2 separate regions of the Homo sapiens genome follow, and region 2 is linked to region 1. Evidence: promoter capture Hi-C in 16 types of primary human blood cells and fetal thymus (Javierre and others, 2016). All regions are on one chromosome and are shown on one strand. The core of a region is centred on a gene start or on the middle of the fragment in contact, and the rest is flanking DNA. Distances in the headings are between cores, read along the strand shown.

Region 1 (6,930 bases), core at 781-3,280:
TCGGCAAGTTACCTCTGCACCTGTAAAATGGAATAATGGTACCCAATAGTTCTATTAAACATCTGTTGAGGAAATGTATGTGTATGTGTTTTGTACAATATTTATACTTTTAGATTTGCCTATGTAAAAATGAAAACACTCGTGGGAACAGTAAATCTTAAGTAGTTAACATAACTTTATAGAATAATTTTTTTTTCTCTTCAGACGGAGTCTCACTCTGTTGCCCAAGGTGGGGTGCAATGGCACGATCTCGGCTCACTGCAACCTCTGCCTCACCGATTCAAGTGATTCTCCTGCCTCAGCCTCCCGAGTAGCTGAGGCTACAGGGGTGAGCCACCGCGCCCGGCCTAGAATAATTTTCGATTGCTGGTTGAGCAGAGCAAGGCCAATATGAGTTGAGGAAAGCAGAGATGGAAAGGCTCTTTATAGTTAATGATTTCTCATTTTTGCTTTGCTTCCTTTTGCCAAAGTCGGCTTGTCATCTGAGAGTGGAGAGGATTTGTTAGATCTTATGAAGCCAGAGCTCACTTCTGATGTGAACCAAGTATTAATAATTTTGGTGGTGGTTTTCTGTACTGCATCTGAGAGAGTAATCATTGTTCTTTGAAGATGCAATAATTCTACGCTACTACGGGACTTAGGGAAATAATTTTTGAGGATAGGAAGCACAGAATAATTAAGATGACAAGTCTTCCTGCCTCAAAATCATATCACTCTGATTCGAATAAAAAATACCAAGGTTTTTCCTTCTTGAGGTTTTATACTCATGGAAGTTCTTCAACCTGAGGTCTGAAAAATAAGGCAACCCCATCCTCTCCTTAAACAGGTTAGAGCCAGTACCTTTTTATTTCTCTATGCACGGACAAAATAATTATGCAAAAAAAAAAAAGAGGCAGGTTTTGTTTTTTTTTTTGCACTACTGAAATTCACACTTAACATATAAACAATCTGCTATATGCAGACAGCACTGGTGTTTAGAGTTCAATGATCTGGATTCAAGCCTATTTAAAACCAGATAAGAGAAAGTTCCCAAACATCTATGTGTCTTGGATTCTTCATCTGTAAAATTGCGTTGTTGAGAAGATAATATGAGACTAGGCGCGCAAAACAATTTGTTAGAGCTATTATTTCTAACCCGGAATGTGTTCGCTGGCAGTAACAGTGCATTAGTTACGATTCATCGAGGGCAGCTTCTGGACTTTCTGTTTGGAAGCCCAGCTGAGGCAAAAGCAGCAGTGCGTTTAAAAATTGGAGCTCGCCACATTCTGAAATTCTTTCGGTTCGTGAAAGCAGTAACCTAGGAAACGAGACTGGCACCACCCCTTTCAGTCCTAAAGCTTGGTTTCTCCCGCTTTTCTCCATTATGTTTAGGGCATCGCTATTTTACAGTCTTTTTGTTTTTTCTTTCCACATCATTAGCACAAAAGAGAAATTCCCCTTCTACAGAAGCAAGTACAAAACCTTTCTAGTCGCTCCTTTTTGGCAGCAGCTCACCTACTATTTTTTTCTATTCCGCGGTCGCAGCCCCAGACGTCCTCAAAGACAAATATTTTCGCGAGGGCCAGTGTAGGGCAGGAACTCCCTAGGCCTTGAATCAAGGGAATCCAGTAGATAACAACAGAAAGGACTCCGACCCAGGTACCTGAGACATCTGAGACCGCCAAAATTAACACAACACCCTACGCGACAGAGAAAACTCTGGGCGGGGAGAGAGAAAGAGAGCGAGCGAGCGAGAGAGAGAGAGAGCGAGAGAGAGAGAGAGAGAGAGAGAGAGAGAGAGAGAGAGAGAGAGAAAGAGAGCGAGCGAGAGAGAGCGAGAGAGCGAGAGAGCGAGAGAGCGAGAGAGCGAGAGAGAGAGAGAGAGAGAGAGAGAGAGAGAGAGAGAGAGAGAGAGAGAGAGAGAGACGAGAGGAAGCAACGTTCTCGCGACAAGAGGGGTGTCGACGGAAACTCGGAAATGGTCCCCTAGACGACCCGGCCCCAGCTAGTGGGTGGGGCCAGGGTACATCCGCCCCTTTCCGGTTTTTTTCCCCGCCTCCCAACCGTGAGGTGTTGGGTTTGGGGGACGCTGGCAGCTGGGTTCTCCCGGTTCCCTTGGGCAGGTGCAGGGTCGGGTTCAAAGCCTCCGGAACGCGTTTTGGCCTGATTTGAGGAGGGGGGCGGGGAGGGACCTGCGGCTTGCGGCCCCGCCCCCTTCTCCGGCTCGCAGCCGACCGGTAAGCCCGCCTCCTCCCTCGGCCGGCCCTGGGGCCGTGTCCGCCGGGCAACTCCAGCCGAGGCCTGGGCTTCTGCCTGCAGGTGTCTGCGGCGAGGCCCCTAGGGTACAGCCCGATTTGGCCCCATGGTGGGTTTCGGGGCCAACCGGCGGGCTGGCCGCCTGCCCTCTCTCGTGCTGGTGGTGCTGCTGGTGGTGATCGTCGTCCTCGCCTTCAACTACTGGAGCATCTCCTCCCGCCACGTCCTGCTTCAGGAGGAGGTGGCCGAGCTGCAGGGCCAGGTCCAGCGCACCGAAGTGGCCCGCGGGCGGCTGGAAAAGCGCAATTCGGACCTCTTGCTGTTGGTGGACACGCACAAGAAACAGATCGACCAGAAGGAGGCCGACTACGGCCGCCTCAGCAGCCGGCTGCAGGCCAGAGAGGGCCTCGGGAAGAGATGCGAGGATGACAAGGTAAGGACGACCCTTTTCTCTTCAAACCCCATGGTTTCTTTTCTCCCCGGGGTCTGGGGCGGGATGTTAATCCGCTAGCTGTTGTCTTATGCCTTCCAGTATTTCAGTCCTGAAGGCTCCTTTCACCCCCAACAACCCTGTTTCTGTCAGACTTTTCCCAGTTTATCAGTGCCACGTTCTCTGGTCCCTGCCAGAAAAAAATGACTGTAAATTCTGGTTCTCAAGAGTGGACTGTGTGCAGATGCTGCCTATTCTCTAAGCTCAGCTGGTGAGTTGGCAGTAGTAATCATCTGGCCTGTGTGGCCCCCTTACCTTCAAAGACACACAAATCTGGCGACTGCCAGGTTTGGTGTGGTTATTGTCTCATTTTTATTCCGTGCACACTGATCAATATTAATTTCGTTATTTAAAGAACGAAGCCGCCTCTGACTCCTCTACTTATGGTAGTCATCATATATTTTTTAAGCTGTGTGACTTTTAAAATCTCTATAGGGTGATGTATTGAATAACTAAATAATCAGCTATGACTGCCTTTTTGTGATCAAAATGTTATGATAGATGGGCCCTCGAGCTATATGTGAGACACACTTGTGTCTTGGACATAGTTGATCCATCATTATCTACTCAATTTGAATTGTTAATGAAATCAGCCAAAAGATTAGAATCTGAAAATAAATTTTAAGCAGTGGAATGTCATGTCAGTGTCTTCATTGAAAGAAAATAGAATGAAATTTTGTATAGCTAAGTTGCTATTAGGGTTGGTGTTTTATGCAGATGGAAAACTATACAAAGTTTTAAATATAAAAAGTTTAAAATTGAACTGTAATCATACTTGCTACTAAATAATCCTTGTTTTCATTAGCTCATTGGTAACTATATTAATAGTTTATGACTTAGCAACTTCTGTAGGTATAGTAGAGTTATGAAAATTTCTGGGCAGGATAGTAGATGCCTTTCTATACACTTCTTTGGTAATCTTCACATTTTTGTGTGTAAATGCCCATTATAATTACAAGTTTTACTTTGCATATCAAAATCACTTAAGGGTAAGTCATTATGAATTAAACTGTCTGTGAGCTTCTAACTTTCCTGTTGACAGCCTCTACCTGGCTTTCTTATTTCATGAAGATTAAGGCCCTCAGCTAAGTGCTTCCCTATAACCCCCTCCTCTTCACCATAACATAGACATGCTATGATAGGGTCAAGGAATCAGTACATTTATATGTGCGCTGCATGCTTAACTCTAAAGACTGAAAAACTCTCGGGCAGAGTAGGTAGAAATCCATGAAAGTTTGGAGTATTAAAGTAAGGTCTTCCTACTTGGCATGGTTGAGCATTACAATTCACATTCTTCTCTCTGGTCTCAAAGGAAAGTCTCTTGTTGTAATTAATACTCTTGATTCCATTCTTTCATCCATTGGACTTTTTGTTGTTGTCGTTGTTGTTGTTGTTGTTGTTTTTTGAGACGGAGTTTTGTTTTTGTTGCCCAGGCAGGAGTGCAATGGCGTGATCTCAGCTCACTGCAACCTCCGCCCCCCCGGGGTTCAAGCAATTCTCCTGCTTCAGCCTCCTGAGTAGCTGGGATTACAGGCATGCACCACCACGCCTGGCTAATTTTGTATTTTTAGTAGAGAAGGGGTTTCTCAATGTTGGTCAGGCTGGTCTTGAACTACCAACCTCAGGTGATCCGCCCGCCTCAGCCTCCCAAAGTGCTGGGATTACAGGTGTGAGCCACCATGCCCAGCCTCTTTTTTTTTTTTTTTTTTTAAAGAGACAGGGTCTCATTGTGTTGCCCAGGCTGGAGTGCAGTAGCTGTTACACAGGCATGATGCACTATAGCATTGAAATCCTGAGCTCAAGTGATCCTCCTGCTTCAGCCTCTGAGTAGCTGGGACTGCAGGTGTGCACCACCTTGCCCAGCTCTACTGAACTGTCTCTTTCAGTTTGTTTCACTTTTTACCTTCAACAGTATGTGGGTGTCCCCTGTTCTCAGTAAAGGAAAAAAAATCTGTATATTCCTTTCTCCCAACCAACCCATTTGTTTTTTCACTTTCATTGCTAAAGTCAAATTATTGATGGTCTACAAATGTTCCATCTACCTATTTTTTCATAACCATCCTAATCTTAAAATGTCTGCCATCTTTCTTTCCTCCCCTTTTTTGAAACTATTCTCTTGAAGGTCACAAATGGCAGTCTTCCTAGTCAAAACCAAAGAATATTTTTATTCTTACTGTATTTGACCTCCCAGTAGTTTGATCCTGTTGATTGTCTCTAGCTATTTGGAAACTATTTTCTTTCTTGCTTCTGTTATACTGGACTCTCCAGTCTTATCTTCTTCACTATATTCTTTGCTGGATTTATTTTTTCTTTCCAGTCACCTAGTAAGGGACTCTGTTATTGAGCCTTTGCTCTCCCATAAGAGCAGTATTCCCCAAAGTAGTGTTAAACAGAATACCCTTCTTGTAATATTTCTTAGGTGGTGAGGAGAAAAAAATGAAAACCTTTTTTGGAGGGAAATGTTAGTGTATCCTCCTCTTGGAATTCATAATGCCTGCTGGAATATAAAAGCTCTGAGAAATCCATTAATAAAGAAGGCTATTCAATTTTGTTTAACTCAGTCTTGTTTAGTTTATTTGATCACAGGTTACTATTTTCATGGCCTACCTATTATGGCACAGAATAATATAGCAAAGCCCACTAGTTTGGGAAATATTGCCCTGGGTATCTTAACTACTTTTAAGTGTTTGGCTAATATTTTATGCAGCTGGCTCACAAGACTGTATCTCTTATTGAATGTCAGTTCTGTGTGTGTATATGTGTATACATACATATATATATATATATATTTTTTTTTTTTTTTAGACAGAGTCTCGCTCGGTTAAGCAGGCTGGAGTACAGTGGTGTGATCTCGGCTCACTGCAAGCTCCGCCTCCTGGGTTCACGCCATTCTCTGCTTCAGCCTCCTGAGTAGCTGGGACTACAGGCGCCCACCTCCATGCCCGGCTAATTTTTTGTATTTTTAGTAGAGATGGGGTTTCACCATGTTAGCCAAGATGGTCTCGATCTCCTGACCTCGTGATCCACCAGCCTTGGCCTCCCAAAGTGCTGAGATTACAGGCGTGAGCCACCGCACCCGGCTAGTTCTGTATATTTTTAAAAGTTTTTTCTTTTTTTAGTTTTGTAGAGATAGGGTGTTGCTATGTTGCCCAGGCTGCTTTCAAACTCCTGGCTCCAAGTGATCTTGCCTTGGGCTCACAAAGTGCTGGGATTCTAGGTGTGTGCCACAGCACTTGGTGTGCCACTTCTGTATTTTGAGCTGGCTATAACAACTTTCTTGGGCTGCTTGTGAATGTCTGTTCTTGGGGTTAATGAGGACTCTCTGAGCTGCTTAGTAGAAAGGGTAGTCTTGGTCTCTGTATTTTAAACTTAACAGTTTTTCAGGGTTTTTTTTATTGTTATTGTTGTTTGTTTGTTTTGAGACAGGGTCTTGCTCTGTCACCCAGGCTGGAGAGCAGTGGTGCGATCATAGTTTACTACAGCCTCAAACTCCTGGGCTCAAGCGATCCTCCCACCTCGGCCTCCCAAGTAGCTGGGACTATAGGTGCATGCCACCATGATGGTCTAATTTTTTATTTTTTGGTAGAGATGAGGGTCTTATTATCTTGTCCAGGCTGGTCTCCAGTTCCTGGCCTGAAGTGATCCTCCTGCCTTGGCCTTCTAAAGTGCTGGGTGTGAGCCACCATACTTGGCCACTTAACAGTTTTAGATCTGGAAAATTATTGGAAAATTAGATCTGGAAAACTAAACAAGTGATCCTCCTGCCTTGGCCTTCTAAAGTGCCAGGTGTGAGCTACCATACCTGGCCACTTAACAGTTTTAGATCTGGAAAATTATTGCAAAGATAGTACAGGGAGTTTTTATATACCCCACACCCAGTCTTCCCTATTATTAACATCTTAACATAAGTATGATGCATTTGTCACAATTAATGAACCAGTATTGATATCTTATTATGAAAGTCCGTACTTTATTCAGATTTCTTCAGTTTTCGCCTGCTGTCCTTTTTTAATTCCAGGATCTCATCCAGAGTTACGTTACATTTAGACATTATGTCTTCTGAAGCTTCTTTTCAGCCTTTCCTTGTTTTTTAGACCTTTTCTTGTTTTTGATAATCTTGACAATTTTAAGGATTACTGATTAGGTGTTTTATATAGAATGTCCCTCAATTGGGAATTGTCTGAGTCTTTTCTCAGGATTAGACT
Region 2 (6,930 bases), core at 2,417-4,916, 920 kb after region 1:
GGCTTGTCGCCTGAACTCTTCTCTGTTGAAAGCCCCGCCCCCTTGCAATGTCATTGATTTGTCATTGTTTGTTCTAGCCTATCTCCACCCTCGCAGCCATCTGAGGGCACGCAAGAGCATTAATCTCTGCTTTCTCGATTTTGGTCCACACTTGCCTGCGCACCAGACACGGTGGCCGATTTCTCCACCGTGGAGGCTGCTCTTGGGGTTCCCCTTACCTCGCGCCTCAAGGAAGTTGTATGGTGGTGGGTCAGAACTGATTTTCCTTCTTGTAAAATTTAAGAGCTCCAGTCCCAGCCAAAGTCGTTCAGATAGCATGATAGTCAGGGCATGGTGAGCGTCAGAGAGACTTTGGGCCACCATTCGGGCGTCCTCAGGGGCTTCACATCATTGCAGGCCCGGCCTCATAGGAATCCTTTGGTTGCAAAGCACTTTCATGTCCCTTCTTTTGCGGTCCGTGCGTACAGCCAAGAGGAGACTTCGGGCTAGGGAGTCCACAGCGCTCCCGGCTGCTCTTGCGGGTGAACGTGGGTGCGGGAGGAACCTGGTAGATAATGGACGCTTAGGAAAGCTGGAATGGCCGCCATCTAGACGAGAAGGGCAACACTGGGTCAGCTGCTCGTCGTGGCGTCCCGGTAGCTCGCCGTGATCGTATAGTGGTTAGTACTCTGCGTTGTGGCCGCAGCAACCTCGGTTCGAATCCGAGTCACGGCATTGTGGAAACAATGGTACGGCAAGGGCCTCTTTTTAGACTTAGAAAGCCACACATTCTTCTGGGAAGCTAACTCTAAAAGCTGTTACCTGGCCAGGGCTGAAATTATAACGGACAATGAAGTGTGCACAAAAAGTTCGGTGCACACTCTGGGGCTTTCCTTTCTCATCTGCTAGTGAATCAGTCACCCCCACCTTCCCCAATATGTGATTATTTTATTTTTGTGTAGTTTCTGTGTGGTACTCTTTATTTTACCCTTGTGAATGACCGAATCATATATTGGATCCTCTAAAAACCTTCACACTAGCTAAAACATCAATACTTTGGGACAAAGGGGTGATAGGAACAATGTGCAAACATTAATTAAGGGTTAGAAGAATGCAGATTAGACCATACGCTGAACCGTTTTGCTTCAGATCCCGTGACAAGTGAAATATATGACTGCACTAGAGGTGCTGGTTCCAGTAGCCACTATGAGGGGTGCTAATGAGAGGTTTGTGGCCTTCATCTCCACAGTCTCCTAGGTGAGAGGGGGTTTTCTCCTGGAGGGTTTTCCCCTAATCTACCTCAAGTTTAAGCACATTTTGTTTGCTTGTTTTATGTGGACCTAAAAAACCCAAACTCAACAAATTCAAGTCTGTCATTTGGCATTAGGCAAAATGGAAGTGAGTTTTGGATTTGACTTTCAGGCAGCTGGTGGTGGCTATGTCACTCTCAAGGAGGGAATGAGAGGGCACTGAGGAATGAGCCTCTCCAGCTCCTCTCAGGTGTCCTGAGGGTGGCAAGGCAAGCCCGAGATCATTCCTGGGAGAGACAGACATTGCAATGGGGTTGCGCCCCCTCTACCCACAATCAATCAGTAAAGAATGAACAGCACTTAAAAGCTAGGCACTGGCTTCATGCCTGTAATCCCAGCACTCTGGGAGGCCGAGGTGGGCGGATCTCTTGAGCTCAGGAGCTCCAGACCAGCCTGGGCAACATGGCGAAACCCTGTCTGTACCCAAAATACAAAAATTAGGGCATGGTGGCGTGTGCCTGTAGTCCCGGCTACCTGGGAGGCTAAGGTGGAAGGATTGCTTGAACCCGAGAGGCAGAGGTTGCAGTGAGCTGAGATCACACCACTGCATTCCAGCCTGGGCGACAGAGCAAGACCCTGTCTCAAAAAAAAAAAAAAAAAAAAAAAAAAAAAAGCAAGGCACTGCGTGGGGGCTGTAATCTCCCCAGGTCTCCAGTCTCCCAGTTCTCTACATTTGGCGAGTTTAAACCACACAACAGGACAGCTCACACCTCGAGAGTGTTCTGCGCAAAATAGAATGGGGAAAGGTGAGCCTGAGAACTTGCCAAGCTTTGGATGACTGATTCAAACGTTATATGTCTAGAAAATCAACATCGCCAACAACAAAAAAAGAACTGGCCAACAGGAATGTGGTGACTTATATTCCTCCAACCCCTCACCAAATAACTGCTGTGACGGATTTCAATCTGTGGGCTGGAATAAGGTGTCAGGGTGGGATGCCAGGAAAGGCTCTGGCTTTTCCCCTGAAGACCAGCCCCCACTGCCCTGCTGCAGGTGCTTCAGTAGGCAATGAGCTGCTCCCACACCCTGAGGAGAAAGTTAGGAGTAGCCACTCTCTAAGAGTACTACAAGGAAAAAGTGTCAACCAAGAGGCTGGGCATGGTGGTTCATGCCTGTAATCCCAGCATTTTGGGAGGCTGAGGTGGGAGGATTGCTTGAGCTCCGGGGTTTGAGACCAGCCTAGACAACATGGTGAGAAGCTCTCTCTATAAAAAATACAAAAATTAGCCAGGTGTGGCGGTGTGTACCTGTAGTCCCAGCTATTCAGGAGGCTGAAGTGGGAGAATTGCTTGAGCCTGGGAGGGGGAGATTGCAGTGAGCCGTGATCATGCCACTGAACTCCAGCCTGGGCAACAGAACAAGACCCTGTCTCAAAAAAAAAAAAAAGCGTCAACCAATAAAACAAAAATCACAAACATTCACCATCTGAGATAACCCACTAGCCATCCATGTCTGAGGTCAGGAATGCTAAAGAAAGCTGAACTGAAAGTGTTGTATTGTGACCTAGTTGCAGGAAGAGTGACACGAGGGGAGGGCTGCCTTTTTGGCAGCTACACGGTAGTCCATGAGATGGGCGCATCCAGCTCTCAACATTTCATAACATCCTCTTCTGAGGTCACTCAGTCAATTTTCCTTACAAAACAGACTTTGATAATGATTTGCCCATTAGACTTCCCTACAGGAAAAAGCATGCTTTGAACAAGCTTATTGGCACTGTTCTCCTAACTGTGGGTGTTTTGGTTTAGACTCATAAGAGTCTGGTTAGCATAATTCATTTCCCTTGTGCCTACTTATCTCTAGGTACACTGACAAAATGGAATGTCAGGGCTGGCAAAGCCCTGCTCCTGGAGACCCTGGCCTGGAATGACCTCATCAAGACCCCGCTGCCCTGGGACACCCTCTCTGAGCAATCAGTCAGCACCCCCTTCCTGTTGGTCCCTTGCTTTTAAAATTGTTTTATGATTTCTGATTCTGGGAATGTAATATTTCCTCCTATCACTTCCAGCTTGAGGTTGGAACTCTTCTCTAGGTCTCAGTGCCAGGAAAGAGGTAGGGTGCTTATACTTAAGAGCACCCTGTTCACACATTCCAGCTCCAGTTGTTCCCATCTTGGTTGGATTTGTTAATTTCTGCAGGTTTCCAACCTCTAAGTCACTTTGAATTTTTTTCCCTTCCATCTGATAGACCCTGAGGTACAGTAGTTGATAGTACTAGACTAGTCCTAACTCTAATTAAGGGGTAGCATAAGTTGGGGATGGTGGCTCACGCCTGTAATCCCAGCACTTTGGGAGACTAAGGTGGGAGGATTGCTTGAGCCCAGGAGTTCAAGACCAGACTAGACAGTATAATGAGACCTCGTCTCTGTTGGGGGAGCTAGCATAGCTTAGTAATGAAGCCTCTGACACCTGAAAGTAGGCTGTTTAAGATTTGAATCTCAACTCATCCATTTACTAACTAGGTGACCCTGGGGAAGCAACATGTCTCCATGCCTCAGTTTTCTCACCTGTAAAATGATTGTAGAATGACTTCTCATCTGTAAAAGGATTGTTATGAAGATTAAATGAATGAATATTTGTAAAGCAATAGTGCCTGGCACTTACAAAGCCCTACTGAAGTTTTACTTAAATAATATAGTAGATGGGAATATAACATAATGAAATCAACTCCTTAAAAATGAACACCCTGGAACATAAACATCCAAATGAGTATTGTGTTTCAAATCAGGCATTCCACTTTCTCCAAACAGCTGCCCAAAATATTTTTGGAATTCTTATTTGGAGATTATTTTCAGGGCTAATTTATAAGCCATATGAGTACATCCACCTCAATATTTATAATCACATTCTATTTTGAAATAACTTTTGACTGCTTTTAAAGCTACCTTCAAAGAGAAAAATGTCACCACTGAGTCTTTTAAGGCACAAAAATTTCAATGACAATGCCAGAAATGTTTTATAAATAACATTCCAGCAAAAGAAAAACAATTTTTTTTTTTTGGTAGGAGTGTGTAGACTTCAAAGGGCAAACCTTGAAAGGGACAACAGTAATTTATAAGCTTCAGATTGTCTGCTTAAACCATCAACCCCACAGCTTCCTGGTTATACTCCCTGGTTATACCTCGTATATCTGGGAGCTGCCAACCCCCACAGGGGCGCAGTGTTGAGCAGCTGCCACTGGACCAGCAGGCTCTGGTCCTGGAAGGCTTGTCCAAAATTCAGAATCTTGATCCACAACTCAGAATTACCCAGTGAAAATCTTCGGTTTTCCACAAGGTCCTCTCCAAGTGATTCATCTGCACAGGAAAGTTTGAGAAGTGCTGCTCTAGCCTAAAGCTCTAATGGAATCCTTCATTGTTCATCTTGTGAGTACTTGGGTTACTAGAAGGGACCTGCCTGAATCTACTGAGCCTCATCAATGGGGATGTCATTGAGGTTTTCACAGTGAGGAGATGGTGATCTGGGAGGGAGTCATCAAAGGGCCCATGTTTAGGGCCGTCTAGGGAGGAGGCAGCACATCTGGATTTCCACTAGAAGGCGCTGTGCCCCAGGAAGTAGTAGTGAAAAGCTGAGGCTGGAAAAGACTCATTTAATTTGCAACATACCACTTCTGACTTAACTGAGCCTGTTCCACAGGGATTCTCTGGGTAATGAGGACTCAGATTTCATCCATCTACTTATCTATCCATTCATCCATCCATCCATCCATCCATCCATCCATCCATCCATCCACTCATTCATTCATTCATTCATTCTTCATTCTTCCCATAAACTAGCATCTCTTAGTTCTTAAGTCATTGGGGGCTGCAAAGCTGTATAAGATACTTCTTGCCTAGAGTAGTTTATTTTTGAGCTGAGTTTGTCAACTGAGATTTGCCCCTCATCCAAAGTCAAGTGACCAGCATAGACTGTTCAATATGCTGTAGTCGGTCTCTTGTTTCTAGGTACTTCTCTCCATATCCACAAAAAGAAACTGTAGGGAAAGATGGTGCAGGACTTTATTCCTGGCATGAGACCTGAAACTAATTCCTGAGTCAGGAAGAATGCAGGAGCTGCCTTGCAGAAGCAAAGGTCTAAATCAGTGGTTTCCAAACTTTTTAGAACTGATAAACTAGGACAAACTTTTCACCACTGAATGAAAAAATGAGGTCAATGTGGTAAGCTTTTAAAATGCTAAATGCATTTAATCCAAAGGACTGTCCTCTAGGCTGAGACAATGACCTTTTTATTTTTGAGGTATTAAAGTGACTTTTATAAAACTATGGAGAAAGTAGGTGATAGGTGTTTTTTTGTTTGTTTTTGTTTTTGTTTGTTTGTTTTTTAGACGGAGTCTTGCTCTTGGCTCACTGCAACCTCTGCCTCCCAGGTTCAAGCGATTCTCCTGCCTCAGCCTCCTGAGTAGCTGGGATTACAGGCATGTGCCGCCACACCCAGCTCATTTTTGTATTTTTAGTAGGGACGGGGTTTCACCTTGTTGGCCAGGTTAGTCTTGAACTCCTGACCTCAGGTAATCCACCTGCCTCGGCCTCCCAAAGTGTTGAGATTACAGGCATGAGCCACTGTACCCAGCCAGTGATAGGTTTTAAAAAACATCTTTTCTTGGAAACGTTTTAAATTGGCAATGTTGGTCTCCAAAATTAGTTTTGAGTTACTGGTCAGAAAAATCTGCAAATACAAAGCTCACTACAGAGTTCAGAGAGCCAAAGCATCAGGCTGAGCAGAAATGGTCCTGGGTGAGTAGGGGGTCTGAGGAGGCATGCTCAGAGGGAGATGTGTTCCTGTTCTGTTGGGCAATGGTCCATGCTGACACCTATCCTCCTGCCCAATAACCAGTAGTGCCTAGTATGATCTGTGCTAGGCCTTGGAGATATGAATTAAATAAGACCCATTCTTACTCTGAGATCATTTTAGTTCGGGGTTAATCAGATGAGTGAAGAACTAATTAGAACTATGCCAGACATATATACAAAGTGTGTTGGAGCTTAGATCGTTGATTCTACCAGGATACAACATTTGATCTGAGTTCCAAGGCATGCATAGTACTTTTCCTGGAAAAGAAAGGGAAAGGATATTCTACTTGGGAGGCTGAGGCAGGAGAATCACTTAAGGCTGAGAGGCGGAGGTTGTAGTGAGCCGAGATTGCTCCACTGCACTCCAGCCTGGGTGAGAGAATGAGACTCTGTCTCAAAAAAGATAAAAAGGAAAGGGTATTCTAGGCAAAGAGAAAGGCATAAGTAAAAGCAAGGAAGTATGATGCACAGATAGCATAGGAAAAGACAAGTTGTAGCTACAACATTAGATATGGAGGGGAGGGAGGCCGGGGAGGGCGGATCACTTGAGGCCAGGAGTTCGAGACTAGCCTGGCCAACATGGTGAAACCCCATCTCTACTAAAAATACAAAAATTAGATGGGTGCAATGGCACATGCCTGTAATTCCCCCTAAAACAAACAAACAAAGAAACAACAAAGATATGGAGGAGAGAGTGGAGGGTGAGAGGCTGGAGCCAAATTTTGATGAATCTCTTACTTGAGTCAGGCCTTTTTCCTGGAGGCTGGTGTTTCTTCACATTTTGTGGTAACATTGCTTTGGGGATCCATTGACAGCCACAGCCTTGTTCTCCAAAGTAATACACCTATGATAAAA

The links. Contacts are between HindIII fragments. The CHiCAGO score rates a contact against its expected background, and 5 or more counts as called.
Region 2: a contact is called between a fragment that was not itself captured here and the fragment with the promoter of GOLM2 in region 1, in 1 of 17 cell types (fetal thymus). The highest score is 5.2, in fetal thymus.

What each region holds. Positions count from the first base shown.
Region 1 is chr15:44,286,689-44,293,618 of GRCh38, forward strand. GOLM2 (golgi membrane protein 2) reads left to right here and starts at 2,031. Exons shown (of 10, transcript NM_138423.4): 1 at 2,031-2,668. The coding sequence starts at 2,342. RefSeq lists enhancers at 1,090-1,996, 1,378-1,447, 1,843-2,137 and a silencer at 1,948-2,307. The HindIII fragment of the contact is 5,453 bases long and covers 1,336-6,788 here.
Region 2 is chr15:45,200,509-45,207,438 of GRCh38, forward strand. TRH-GTG1-9 (tRNA-His (anticodon GTG) 1-9) reads left to right here and starts at 643; the gene lies at 643-714. It also overlaps a transcript of SHF not described here. RefSeq lists silencers at 1-77, 718-777, 798-847 and enhancers at 178-467, 335-844. The HindIII fragment of the contact is 1,352 bases long and covers 2,991-4,342 here.